Regions from separate parts of the Homo sapiens genome. Here regions 2, 3, 4 and 5 are each linked to region 1. Evidence: promoter capture Hi-C in 16 types of primary human blood cells and fetal thymus (Javierre and others, 2016). All regions are on one chromosome and are shown on one strand. The core of a region is centred on a gene start or on the middle of the fragment in contact, and the rest is flanking DNA. Distances in the headings are between cores, read along the strand shown. Region 1 holds the start of AGBL2 (AGBL carboxypeptidase 2). Region 2 overlaps CKAP5 (cytoskeleton associated protein 5). Region 3 overlaps CKAP5 (cytoskeleton associated protein 5). Region 4 overlaps CKAP5 (cytoskeleton associated protein 5). Region 5 overlaps CKAP5 (cytoskeleton associated protein 5).

Region 1 (2,547 bases), core at 28-2,527:
CTGTCTACTTGACAGAGGTGACCCGCAGATCAATGGGGAAAGGAAGTACTTTTCACTAATGGTAGAGGAAAAAGTATTTATTTGTCAATGCAAATTATTTATTAGTCTACCCAAGTGCAACCCTCCCAGCTAACGAAGCAATTTTCCTCTTGAGTCCAGGAAAGGTGATACTAGATAAGAACATGGTATTACCTTTAAAGTAGCCATAATATTGGAGGTGACGGTACATAAAGTCTTCATAAGGATCAGGAATAGTCTGTGAAAGGAAAGGCCACTTCAATCAAGATAATGTTTTCAAACCATAATAGACTCAACAAAAAGTACATGAGCGTTGTTGCATAGGACTAGACTAAACCAAGCGAGCTGCATTCCATGCGAATTATTCTATCGTGGGGATCAAGATCTCCAGCTGAGAAAAGATGCCACCAGAACATCCCTTCTCATCTAGTAGCAGATTTCTGTGGAGTTCCCGAAGAAATGGAGTTCCCCGAAGAAATTTCTGTGGCTTTCCGTGTTGTGTACCGACCTGCTTTAGGTGCGTTTCCAAAGCTGGGAACATGTTACTTCTGGATGGTAGGCTGAAAACTAGTCAGTGACATTAGCATCCAGTCGCAAACCCTGCCCAATTTCCAAATAGGCAGCTGATTACACAAGAGAAGCTACAAAGCCACAAGAGGACAAGTGAAAAAACTGCCAATACCTCCCCGGGCGCCCCCCAGCTCCCTCTTGACTTCAGAAAACCCTGCCAACCCAGCTTCTCCTCAGCTAAACAAGGTGGTCACGCCGAGGCCAGAGGTGCATCTGAGACAGGGAGGGCAGCGTATCTTCCCGCTTCTTCTTCCCAAGGTGCTGGCCCCATGCTTCCCTTTCCCTGAGAAAGGAGATGCTCGCCACAGGAAAGTGAAAGAAATGGGTATGGGAGCACGCGACGAAGTCGTCTCGGTAGGTGCCGATGGAAAAAGGTCAGGGGGTTGGGAAAGTGGGCCCTAAAGATTGAATTTAGGGTTCAGAGGAACCTGGTCTGGGGCAGGTGGTGAGGGGGTTTCCTAAGGGTAGGAGCGGGGAAGGAGAGCAGAAACTTCCCAGGAGGGCAGAGCGATGGATGCGACCGCCTTCGCGCCCCGGCCCGTCCCAAGCAGCACGGATGGCTGCGGCAGAGAAGCTCCAGCGAGGCAGGCGGCCACCGCACTTAAGTACAGAGGCCAAGCAGTGTGCGGGCAAGGGGACAAACTCGCTGCACCCGCCCGCCACCGCCTTCTGTGAGGGCCCGGGTAGTCTAGCAACCGAAAGCAGGAAGCGGAGAAAGGGCGGGGCGGTCGGGCGCTTCCGGGGAGCTAGGCCTCGCCCCCAAGGAGGGAGCGGGGACCCCGGGAAGGTCTGCAACATGTATGGCGGGCAGCGGCTTTCTTCCCCTCATACATCACAGCCCCAGCCTCGGAATCGAAACCGCATTGATGAGTACGATGCCAGTAGCCTTCAACATACTTCCAAGCTGGTTTGCTGTTGGCTTTAGATAACTGTTATGCATAATTTGCTCTAAGAGAGCTGCTGCTTCTCTCCTTTCACCTTAACATTCTCTCCACTGCACAGCTAGAAAGGAAAAATTACCTTCTACACTGCAAATCTTAAGAAACAGAGCTAACAAATTCAAATCACACATTTTGATTAGGTTTAAAAAAATCAATTATATGCATAGAAATTTACTCCAGGCCAGGCGCGGTGGCTCTCGCCTGTAATCCCAGAACTTTGGGAGGTCGAGAGTTGGAGACTAGCCTGACCAACATGGAAAAACCCCATCTCTACTAAAAATACAAAATTAGCTGGGTGTGGTGGCGCATGCCTGTAATCCCAGCTACTCGGGAGGCTGAGGCAGGAGAATCACTTGAACCTGGGAGGCGGAGGTTGCGGTGAGCCGAGATCGTGCCATTGCACTCCAGCCTGAGCAACAAGAGCGAAATTCTGTCTCCAGAAAAAAAAAAAACAAAAAACCAACAACAAAAAAATAAATATACTACAATAAAATTCAAACACGTGTCTTTGGTTAACTATATATGAATATAACCGTATCTGTTACTTTTATCAGTGGGGGGAAAAAAGCTATAAAGCACCTTTTTTTCTGAAATGTTAACCATATTACATCATTGCCAGGAATTAAGTAGGTAAAATATTATCTAATATGGCTATTAACCAATCTAGATATTATAGATAATATTAGACCCCAAAACTTTGATCACACAGCACCATCTGGGACTAGAAGCCTGTTTGTCTAAACTGGCCCCACCACTCCCCATTAAAGATCTCCTGCTCATTTTCTTGAAAGCTGTTGTTAAATGTTTGCACCTTGCATTGTATATGCTTAGAAAAAAAAACAAGTCCTGGTTACATAATCAGAATAACAGGAGTTGACGAGCAAAAGGATAACCCATCAGGATTATAAAAAAAGCTTTATTAGTGCATATATACAAATTTACAAGGTCAGAAACTGGAGAAATACAAAGAGCTTTAAAACACAATTTGCCGTTTCCTCAGTTTAAAGTGACTTTTACC
Region 2 (2,547 bases), core at 16-2,515, 970 kb before region 1:
ATGCTGGTGCTGCTCCCGTGACTCCCGGAGCTGAGAGAGTTTGCTGTGGAGCATGTCTGTGGAAGAGGCGACAGTAGGAACTGCTGGTTTGGAGAGCAAAGAGGTCAAAGGAGGTCGGTCATCTTGCTATTGAGAGAAGGAGAGAGATTGTCTAAGGTCAGGTCAAGCAGGTCAAGATGCAGCTCCAGAACTACAGCAAGACTAAGCCACTTCTCTGTGGGCCAGCCTGCCTCGGACCTGCTTGTGACTACCCTCCCTGAACTGCACAGAAGAAAAGGAGCAGTACCTTTGTGTTGTCCAGACCACATCGCTGTCGGAGGATCTTTAGCCTTTCCAAGTAGACAGATGGCCCCACTTCTTCCCCATTTGTGTTACCTATGGAGGACACTGTGCTTGTGGGCGTGGGCACACATGTGACTTCCATCTGAGGGGAGATGCCTAGAGGGGAAAAAGTAGAAAGAATATTCAGATATCCACATATCCCCCTTCTAAAGTGCCTTGGTTAATCTCCCACCAAAAAGAACAATTAAGAATTTCCTATACTTGAAAACGACAAATTCCACAAGAATCTACCTGGAGTTGGTGATAAGGGTGCTCTGAAATATACAATATAAGCTTCTTGAGAATGCAAAAAACTGATATAGAAAGGCAGAATGTAAATTGGGTCATCCATCTGCATCCTGGGTTATGCAGGGGATTGTACTCCAGTAATCCCAGGGCTGACTTGGGCAATCCAAAAAGCTGAAGCTACTCCTAAGCATACTGTAATTGCCCAACTGAAAAACCCGAGGACCTTAAATGTTTGGAAGAATTAGATTAAGTTTGGACCAATGTCACATAGGAGAAACTCATTTGAACCTGTGAAGGAAGCAAGGTGTCCAAGGCTATGGTGTATTCATGGGGAAGAGAAGGTGTCCAACAATTATCTAAAGAGGGCATAGAACTGGAGTGTCTGTAACCCTACCACTAAGATCAATATTCTGGCAGGAGAGAGGAAAACCAAAACAACAAAAAATCCATCACACTTCCTAAATTTCTGAGAATGAACAATGATACAATGCGGGCCTTTAAAATATTTCACTTGGTATCAATGCAAATGCATTCCACAGGCCCCAAAGGTAAGGTACTGGGAGGAAACACTGCCTTATGGTAAATAGAAAAGTAGAAAGGTTACTCCAGGGAAAAAGGACTCCTTTAATGTAAAGATGAGGAGAATCCTCTGAGGGGGTGAAAAATGAATGAAGAATTATGTAAAAGCCAGCAATATGAGATGTCTGAATACTCTAAGGCACAAAATCAATTTAATAATCAGTGGGAATACATGCTTGGGTTGCAAATGTGCTGTTTAGGCCAAAATTATCACACGTTGAACATCCCCAAAAAGGGCTTTGGAAACAAGGATAGGATGCCTGCCCTGATCAAACCATGGTATGTTTACATGTGGCATACTGTTGGACATTCTGCACACCACACTTTAACTCCTAAGAGGTCTTTTTCATTAAAGACCAGCCTGGGCAACAAAAAGAGACCCTGGCTGGGCACAGTGGCTCATGCCTGTAATCCAAGCACTTTGGGAGACCAAGACAGGTGGATCACTTAGAGGTCAGGGGTTCAAGACCAACCTGGCCAACATGGTGAAACCCTCTTAAAAAAAATTCAAAAATTAGCTGGGGGTGGTGGCACACACCTATAATCCCAGCTACTCGGGAGGCCAAGACATGAGAATCACTTGAACCCAGGAGGCAGAAGCTGCAGTGAGCCGAGATCGCACCACTGTACTCCAGCCTGGGTGACAGAGTGAGAACCTATCTCAAAAAAACCTCAAAAAATAAAAACACTTGTAAAGTCTTGGAAAGGCGTAATTTAAGGTGTCAAAAACAAAAAAGAACTCCTATTTAAGAGAACAAAATTTAACTGAAGCTTCAGCCCAGCAAGATACAGGCTGAGAGTGGATATGATCAGGGTCTGAAAAACACAAAGGGACATGCTTTGACAGGCAAACACATTCTCAAATGTAAGAGTAGGTGAATGTCACTAAACTCGGAAAGAACTAAGCATAGAACTGATGAGAGGGCACTTTTGCAGTTGGGTCTGTCTTGTCTTGGTTTAAGGCTCATGATAGCTATTTTCTATAACTGAAACCTCCTAAGTCTTCTGTTTGTCTCTAGATCCTGTGAGCAGTAATTCTCGAATAGGGACTTTTTCACTGTGGGGGCAGTAACATTTCAGCTTAAACTTAGTTACTGCATTCATTTATATCATTTAACAAATATCATCATGTGTGGCTTAAGGGCAGGGATACATTCTGAGAAATGCATTTGTTAGATAATTTCATTGTTATGTGAACACCTAGTTGGTATAACCTGCCACACACCTAGGCTACAAGCCTGTACAGCATGTTACTGTACTGAATACTATAGGCAATGTTAACACAAAGTATTTATGTATCTAAACATAGAGAAGGTACAGTAAGAATGTTGTATAAAAGATAAATGGTACACCTGTATAGGACATTTACCAGGAATGGAGCTTGCAGGACTGGAAGTT
Region 3 (2,547 bases), core at 35-2,534, 950 kb before region 1:
ACTTAGCAAGGTGAAGAGCAATTTTAAATATTCTAGTGCTTTCATCAGGACGCTTGTATTGGTGTCAAAAAACCTCAGGGTAAGCCACTTTAAGATAAGATCCAGGCAACCAATAACTCCTTCTTTTTCACTCTCCAAGTGCTTAAAATAAAACAAAACAAAACTCCCACAAATAAGAATAATCAAAATCTTAATTCTACTAGGCAAGTGTCTTTTAAATTTTATTGGAGCCCAAAAAGAAAATGACAGATTTTTAAGCCTTCAATTAAGACCTAAAAAATATACACACACATTCATTTATTCTACCAAATAACAAGACAGCTCTAAAAATAGAGAACATAGTATATTCTACTTCCAAGTCATGCAAACTTCAGATTATTTCATAGGGCTCGGTATTTTTACATGTCTGAAATACATGTATATTTATCTATTGCAGACTTACATCAACCATAACAGCAAGGGCTTTGTTATGATGCTGAAAGTCTGAGTGAAACATCTCATCTTGTAACCATTTAGCCACACAGCTAGACATTTGAGTCTTTAGTTGCTCAATGTATTCATCCCGTGGGGTAGTAAAATTCCACTTTAGCACCTGGAAAAAACAAACGGTGAAAAGGGGCTACAGGGTGTTCAACTGAAATGAGGTAGAGAGCCTTATATAATGCAGCTGCAGGAACAATAAAATATTTAAAAATTCAACAATATTCATTTGTAATTAAATATGAATGCAAATTTCAAGGTGTCATACTTCTTGAAGCTTAACAACTCTGAAAATCTTCTAGGAATAAAAATTTTTGGAATTGTTTGTTTTTGAGACAGAGTCTCACCTGTTGCCTGGGCATGGCAGAGTGCAGTGGCATGATCATAGATCACTGTAGCATTAACCTCCCAGGCTCAAGTGATTCTTCTGCCTTAGCCCCCCAAGTAGCTGGGACTACAGACATGCACCACTATGCCCAGCTAATTAAAAAATTTTTTTCGTAGAGATGAAGTCTCAATATGTTGTCCAGGCTGGTTTTGAATTCCTGGGCTCAGGCAATTTGCCTGCCTTAGCCTCCCAAATTGTTGGGATGACAGGCATGAGCCACTGTGCCTGGCCTTGCAATTCTTACTAAAGAAAAAAAAAAAATTAATCCTACATATAACTATATAACATGGTGGACACTGCTGCCACATCTTTGATAGAGAGAAAATTTGAAATATCTATCAAAATTATGCATATCATCATTCTAGGAGTTTAATATAGATACACTCACATATGTGTACAAAGACCTACATTCAAAGATATTCACAGCAGCAGTGTTTGTAATAGTGAAAGACCAGAAACAACCTAAATGTCCAACATAGTGGGCGAAGGATAAAGAAAGGTACATACATACAATGCACCAATACAAACAGTGATACACACATATATACACAGATACGAATGATCTTTCAGATATTTCAAACATCATTAAAAGAAAATAGTGAGATACAGAACAAACAGTACGGCATGTCTGTATATGCCATCTGTATAAAAGGAGGGCTATATAAAAATATACATATGATAGTAGAGGTATAAAATATTTCTGGAGTAATACATTGAAAAAATGAGGACTAATATCCTCCCTGTGGAGGGATACTGGAACAGAGACATGCTTTTCTTACTATACTTTGCACTTTCTGTACTGCATATAATTTTTAAAAAAGATTATGTATTTTGAAAACAAATTTAAGTATCTAATGAAATCAAAGTAACATAAATGACTGAACTAGCCATTTATACAGTCACAAAGTCTGCCTTGTAAGGTCTTAAAAAGAAGGATTAATGAAGAAGCTTATACATCCAATTAATTAAAAAAAAAAATCAATGAAGATACCAAAAAAGCTACTAAATCATTTATTTCTATTTACAGGGAAAAATAGGCAATAACTCTATTCTATAGTTTCTTTTGTAGGAATTAATGCTCCCATAAACTAAATAATATAATTTATAAGCAAAAGAAACACTTAATTCCTAGATATTAAACAATAACATGAATTCAGACAGCAAAACTATTCTTGAATAACAATACAAGCAAAAATCTCCTGACGATTCTTAATCCTTCCTTACCTTCAATCCTTTTTCATCTTTCATCCTTTGCTCTTTTCCATTTGGAACAACAATAAAAATAGGCCCGGATTTGTCTTCATCCTCCTTTAAGCTGGTTTTGCTTGGCATCTTCTTCCCTTGTGCACTCTACAACCAAGGTTCAGGGAATACTGATTAGCTTGGCCACTTCTCCTTAAGAATATGATGCTGCTGCCCAGTAAAAGGGCACTGTAGAAAACAGAGATATCTTTCTACGTGATATTTCACATGAAAAAAACATGCATCACAGAATCTTGTATATGTTTTTGAACAGGTTCTCTAGAAATTTTTCTGAGAATATTCTTAAGTAACTGTTGGTTAGTTCTTGGACTGGCATGTTATGTAGTTGGAAAAACTGCTATTACTGATCATTAGTCTAGGTCACAAACTTTTTGTTTTTGTTTTCTTGAAATCTTCAACACTATTTATAGCTTTCC
Region 4 (2,547 bases), core at 27-2,526, 930 kb before region 1:
CTATCCAAATCAACTTATCTCACAACTCTGAAAATTAAATAAGGCTTGTAACATACAAGAACCATTTAAAGAAAGGATGCTGAATTTTAGTAAGGACAGTGAGGTTTCTGGTGATTTAACTTGCCTTGCTCCCCTTTTCTTCCAGCTCCACAGTAGCCTTCAAAACCTGAAGTCTTGTAACCATGGCAACTATGAAAACCTAGAGCTGTGCAGCCACTGGCAGGTGGGGGGACAGCTCAGGTTTGGACCTCCTCAAAAAGTTTTGACCCAAAGTACTGTCTTGTCTGGCAGCTTCCTAGAAAAGCTCCATTTGAAAGTCCTGTTATTTGACTGGACTCTGGCTAGCTCAGTGGGAAAAGCCCTATCCCCAGGGATTTTGTTGAAAACAACGAAAACAATGAGTGGCAACTGTTTAACATCTAACATCAGAACTGTGTAAGTCCATAATACCAGCTGGGGGAACCCAGCTTGGTCAAAAACATAAAAGGACCTAGGGAATAAGATATCCACAGAGGACTTTGAGAATCTAGAAGGTCATGCGAATATTCAAGGTTATGTGTATGCCCAGGAAAGACTGAAAAGGGCCCTAATCTCTGACTGACCTTCAAGACCTTGCTTAAAAAGTGAATTCCAGGGTAAAGCTGTAAAGTGCCTGAGTATCTCTGGCATGACCCAGCGCGCACACACACACAAACATACACACCTTCCCCCTTGGCAGAGGGTGGGAGACAGATCACATTGGTTCAAGGCATTTAAGAAAATCTCTCCAGTCATTAGCTGGTCATTAAGTTAACCAAGGAGAGAGTCTTTGGTGGCTGAAAATCAAAATCACAATGAGATTACACTTCATACTGTCTATGAATTTGAGAAAAAAATTAGCAAGGTGTAGTGATGCACGCCTGTGGTCCCGACTACTTGGGAGGCTGAAGTGGGAGGATCTCTGGAGCCTAAGGTGTCAACACTGCAGTGAGCCACGTTTGCACCACCACACTCCAGCCTGGACAACTGAGTGAAGCCCTTTCTCAAAAAAAAAGAAGGTGGTGTGAGAGGAAGAGGGCACCTCAAGAATCTTTTAGAATATTTAGCCTTTGTGGAGCTGGCCTATACGAATAAGGTGCTATGTAACACAATGTAAGGGACACACAGTGTATGAGGGAGCTAAACATCCTAGACAGAAAACAAGAGGTGGCAGCAGAAGAGAAACCAAAAAGAGACTAGCAGGATGCCAATAATAAACCTGATACATTTCAAGTTTGTTTAGCATGAGGTCTATTGTATGTACATCTAGAAAAAGAGAAGGAAACTTTTTCTCATTTTCCTTCCTGCAGCACTTTCCTATACTTCCCTCTATACCCACCCCTTAGACTAATAACTTGGTACTGCTAAATTTCAGCTCTATTATCAGTTAATGGGGCTATACAATTGATTATGTGGTAAATTTTCACTGGCAATTTAAGGACTGCACTTATTTTTTATCCTATCAAATAAAAAAGCTATCTCACTGTTTATTTCTCCCTTGAATATGTAAAGATTGGATAAGGAGGCTTCTAGGCCTAAAAATGAGAAGAAAAAAATGTATATATCTAAATTATACAAATTATATATGGATGTATACATATTTACATATTTATACACATATAAATTCCTAATTATATAAAGTTATACAGTTGACCCTTGAACAACATGGGTTTGAACTGCGAAGATCCACTTATGCATGAATTTTCTTCTGCCTCTGCCACTCCTGAAACAGCAAGACAAACCCCTTTTCTTACTCTTTCTCCTCCTTCAGCCTATTCAACATGAAGATGATGGGAATTGAAGACCTTTATGATGATCCACTGCCACTTAATAAATAGTAAATATGTTTTCTCTTCCTTAGGATTTTCTTAATCACATTTTCTCTCTAGCTTACTTTATTGTAAGAATACAATATACAATACATGTACCATTCAAAATATGTTAACTGACTATGTTATCAGTAGGGCTTCTGGCAACAGTAGGCTATTAGTAGTTAAGTTCTTGGGGAGTCCAGAGTTATATGTGAAGTTTCAACTGCACAAGGGGTAGTACCCCTAATCACCACATTGTTCAAGAGTCAACTGTAGTTATGTGTTCAATCAAAATGCACACACCCCATTGTTCATTAAAAATCATTACCAAGCTGGGCGCGGTGGCTCACGCCCGTAATCCCAGCATTTTGGGAGGCCAAGGCAGGCGGATCACCTGAGGTCAGGAGTTCGAGACCAGCCTGACCAACATAGAGAAACCGCGTCTCTACTAAAAATACAAAATTAGCCGGGCATGGTAGCGGGTGCCTGTAATCCCAGCTACTCGGGAGGCTGAGGCAGGAGAATTGCTTGAACCCAGGAGGTGGAGGTTGTGGTGAGCCAAGGTCGTGCCATTGCACTCCAGCCTGGGCAACAAGAGCGAAACTCCGTCTCAAAAAAAAAAAAATCATTACGAAAACTATTCTGCTGTATTACTCCATAGGATGATGTAATGTAAATTACTTCAATAAAAGACATCAAATCTCACATTTTAAAATAC
Region 5 (2,547 bases), core at 30-2,529, 900 kb before region 1:
AACAAACTTTCTAGGTAAGCAGACTAGGAATAATTAAAACCTATAAAGGATCAACATGTTTAATACCCTTTTTTTTTCTTTTTCAGATGGCATTTTGCTCTTGTTGCCCAGGCTAGAGTGGTATGGCATGATTGCAGCTCACTGCAACCTCTGCCTCCTGAGTTCAGGTGATTCTCCTGTCTCAGTCTCCCAAGTAGCTGGGGTTACAGGCATGCGCCACCACGCCCAGCAAATTTTTGTATTTTTAGTAGAGATGGGGTTTCACTATGTTGGCCAGGCTGGTCTGGAACTCCTGACTTCAGGTGATCCACCCGCCTCAGCCTCCTAAAGTGCTGGATTACAGGCGTGAGCCACCACACCCAGCCTAATACCACAAATATGTATGTATATACATATAAAAGCTTACAAATATAAACTAGTTTATAAATATTTACATGAATGAAATCTACTTTTAATAAACCTTTAATAGCTCCTATAATTAAAGTGATTCATTTACCTAGATAGATCACAAATCTTGGCAATATTTTGTTCCTGACTTTGTGGCTATCACACTATAACTCTGGGCATCTTAAATCTTTCTTTACTTCAGTTTTCTATGGGGAAAATGTTGCATTTTGACTTCTTTCAAAAAGCATATTTGGCCAGGCGCAGTGGCTCACACCTATAATCCCGGCACTTTGGGAGGCTGAGGCAGGTAGATCACCTGGGGTCAGAAGTTCAAGGCCAGCCTGGCCAACATGGTGAAACCCTGTCTCTACAAAAATACAAAAATTAGCCAGGCACGATAGTGGGCGCCTGTAATCCCAGCTACCTGGGAGACTGAGGTGGAAGAATCGCTTGAACCCGGGAGGCAGAGGTTGCAGTGAGCCGAGATCGCGCCACTGCACTCCATCCAGCCTGGGCAACAGAGCAAGGTTCCGTCTCAAAAAAAAAATAAAATTAAAAAAAAGTGTGTTTAACCTTACATATCTGTCATAGATTACATTTTCAAGTTCCCAACTGGCCAATTTTAGCTATCTAATATCACTATTAACATTTGTGAGTATCAGATTCTGGAGCAGGAGAGATTTATTTATGAAAGAACACTGAAATTCTGTATGAGTAGTAGGACCCAAATTATTATTTATCTATTATCTAATGTGCACAAATTTATCTCATGTGAGCAAATGCAACAAAATTACTCAGTAATAGCTACTAGTGTACTCCAACGATTTTTTTTTCTTGGTTTTTGTTTTTACTTTTTTGGAGACAGGGTCTCACTATGTCATCCAGGCTGGAATGCAGTGGTATGATCACAGCTCACTGCAGCCTCGACCTTCCCTGCTCAAGCTATTCTCCAGACTCAGTCCCCCAAGCAGCTGAGACTACAGAGGGGCACCACCATGCCCGGCTAATTTTTTTTTTGTATTTTTTGTAGAGACGGGGTTTCTCCTTGTTGCCCAGGCTGGTCTTGAACTCCTGGGCTCAGGCAATCTGCCTGCCTCAGCCTCCCAACCCAAAGTGCTGGGACAATACAGGCATGAGCCACTGCTCCTGGCCTTAATTATTATTATTATTTTTGAGATAGTGTCTCACTCTGTTAACCAGGCTGGAGTACAGTGACACAATCATAGCTCACAGCAGCCTCACCCCCTGGGCTCAAGTAATCTTCCTGCCTCCTGAGTTGGTGGGACTACAGGCACAATAAAAAAAGAATTTTTAATAAGATACCTGGCTATGTGATATAGTTTAAGTACAAATATCATGAGAATAACCTACATAATCTCTAAGATTTTTTAAAATGCTTTTATATTATTAAAAAAATTACATTTTAACTTGGCTCAGCTGACCTTTAAGATTAAACAAAAAATAAGAAATTATAGTGGCAATAAACCATTTTGTTTTAGGGATATTTAACATGGTGCCTGAAGAACCTAACATTTGAGATTTCTTAAATCTTCCTATATATTATTACTGTTTCATCTGAATCTTTTTTCTCTATCCTGGCCTCCTTCTGTAAGAAAAAAAAGATGGAGCAAGTCCACATGGAAAATAGACACCTTAATAAAATAAAACCTAATTTTGATACTAAACGTATTACTATAGAAAACACAAAAGGGTACTAGAAACCTGTTTTAGGTACCACAAATGTTTCTGGTCACCTGAAGCTCTCACTAACAAAGCTTTAGCAAGCTCTGGAACCCAGGATCAAGCAGTTTGGCCTCAAGGTTCTTGAGGGTCCCAGAGAGCTACCTAGTTAAACTATAGACTCTGAAATGCTTTAGGACAAATAAAGAACCACACAGGGATGGGACTACATAACAACATCTATGAAGAAAACATGAGATATACGTAACTTGTTATTTTCCTACCCTTATTCTCCCAGTTTAGCTAAAAAATGAAATAACCAGAGTACACAGCACTCCAGACTAGAAACTTGTAATTTAAAGGTAGAAGATTATAGGCCAGGTGCGGTTGCTTATGTCTGTAATCCCAGCACTTTGGGAGGCCGAGGTGGGATCACTTGATGCCAGGAGTTCCAGACCAGCCTGACCAACATGGAGAAAC

The links. The method cuts DNA at HindIII sites, captures the fragments that hold promoters and counts their contacts. A CHiCAGO score of 5 or more calls a contact.
Region 2: a contact is called between a fragment that was not itself captured here and the fragment with the promoter of AGBL2 in region 1, in 1 of 17 cell types (erythroblasts). The highest score is 6.1, in erythroblasts.
Region 3: a contact is called between a fragment that was not itself captured here and the fragment with the promoter of AGBL2 in region 1, in 1 of 17 cell types (erythroblasts). The highest score is 5.1, in erythroblasts.
Region 4: a contact is called between a fragment that was not itself captured here and the fragment with the promoter of AGBL2 in region 1, in 1 of 17 cell types (monocytes). The highest score is 6.0, in monocytes.
Region 5: a fragment that was not itself captured here is called in contact with the fragment with the promoter of AGBL2 in region 1 in 3 of 17 cell types (monocytes, fetal thymus and M0 macrophages); the score reaches 8.8 in monocytes.

Annotation. Positions count from the first base shown.
Region 1 is chr11:47,714,092-47,716,638 of GRCh38, forward strand. AGBL2 (AGBL carboxypeptidase 2) reads right to left here and starts at 1,278. Exons shown (of 19, transcript NM_024783.4): 1 at 1,084-1,278; 2 at 527-659; 3 at 193-256. The coding sequence starts at 559. FNBP4 (formin binding protein 4) reads right to left here. Exons shown (of 17, transcript NM_015308.5): 17 at 2,403-2,547. RefSeq lists an enhancer at 956-1,015. The HindIII fragment of the contact is 6,151 bases long and covers 1-2,441 here.
Region 2 is chr11:46,744,140-46,746,686 of GRCh38, forward strand. CKAP5 (cytoskeleton associated protein 5) reads right to left here. Exons shown (of 44, transcript NM_001008938.4): 43 at 287-438; 44 at 1-126. Among named protein-coding and RNA genes, the nearest start is that of MIR5582, 7.8 kb to the right of the region's middle. The HindIII fragment of the contact is 1,305 bases long and covers 614-1,918 here.
Region 3 is chr11:46,763,039-46,765,585 of GRCh38, forward strand. It overlaps CKAP5 (cytoskeleton associated protein 5), which reads right to left. Exons shown (of 44, transcript NM_001008938.4): 28 at 2,093-2,218; 29 at 443-592; 30 at 1-141. Among named protein-coding and RNA genes, the nearest start is that of SNORD67, 1.8 kb to the left of the region's middle. The HindIII fragment of the contact is 1,059 bases long and covers 756-1,814 here.
Region 4 is chr11:46,786,134-46,788,680 of GRCh38, forward strand. All of the region lies in intron 16 of CKAP5 (cytoskeleton associated protein 5), which reads right to left. Among named protein-coding and RNA genes, the nearest start is that of SNORD67, 25 kb to the left of the region's middle. The HindIII fragment of the contact is 5,506 bases long and covers 1-2,547 here.
Region 5 is chr11:46,811,411-46,813,957 of GRCh38, forward strand. The region is part of intron 4 of CKAP5 (cytoskeleton associated protein 5); the gene reads right to left. Among named protein-coding and RNA genes, the nearest start is that of CKAP5, 34 kb to the right of the region's middle. The HindIII fragment of the contact is 1,761 bases long and covers 400-2,160 here.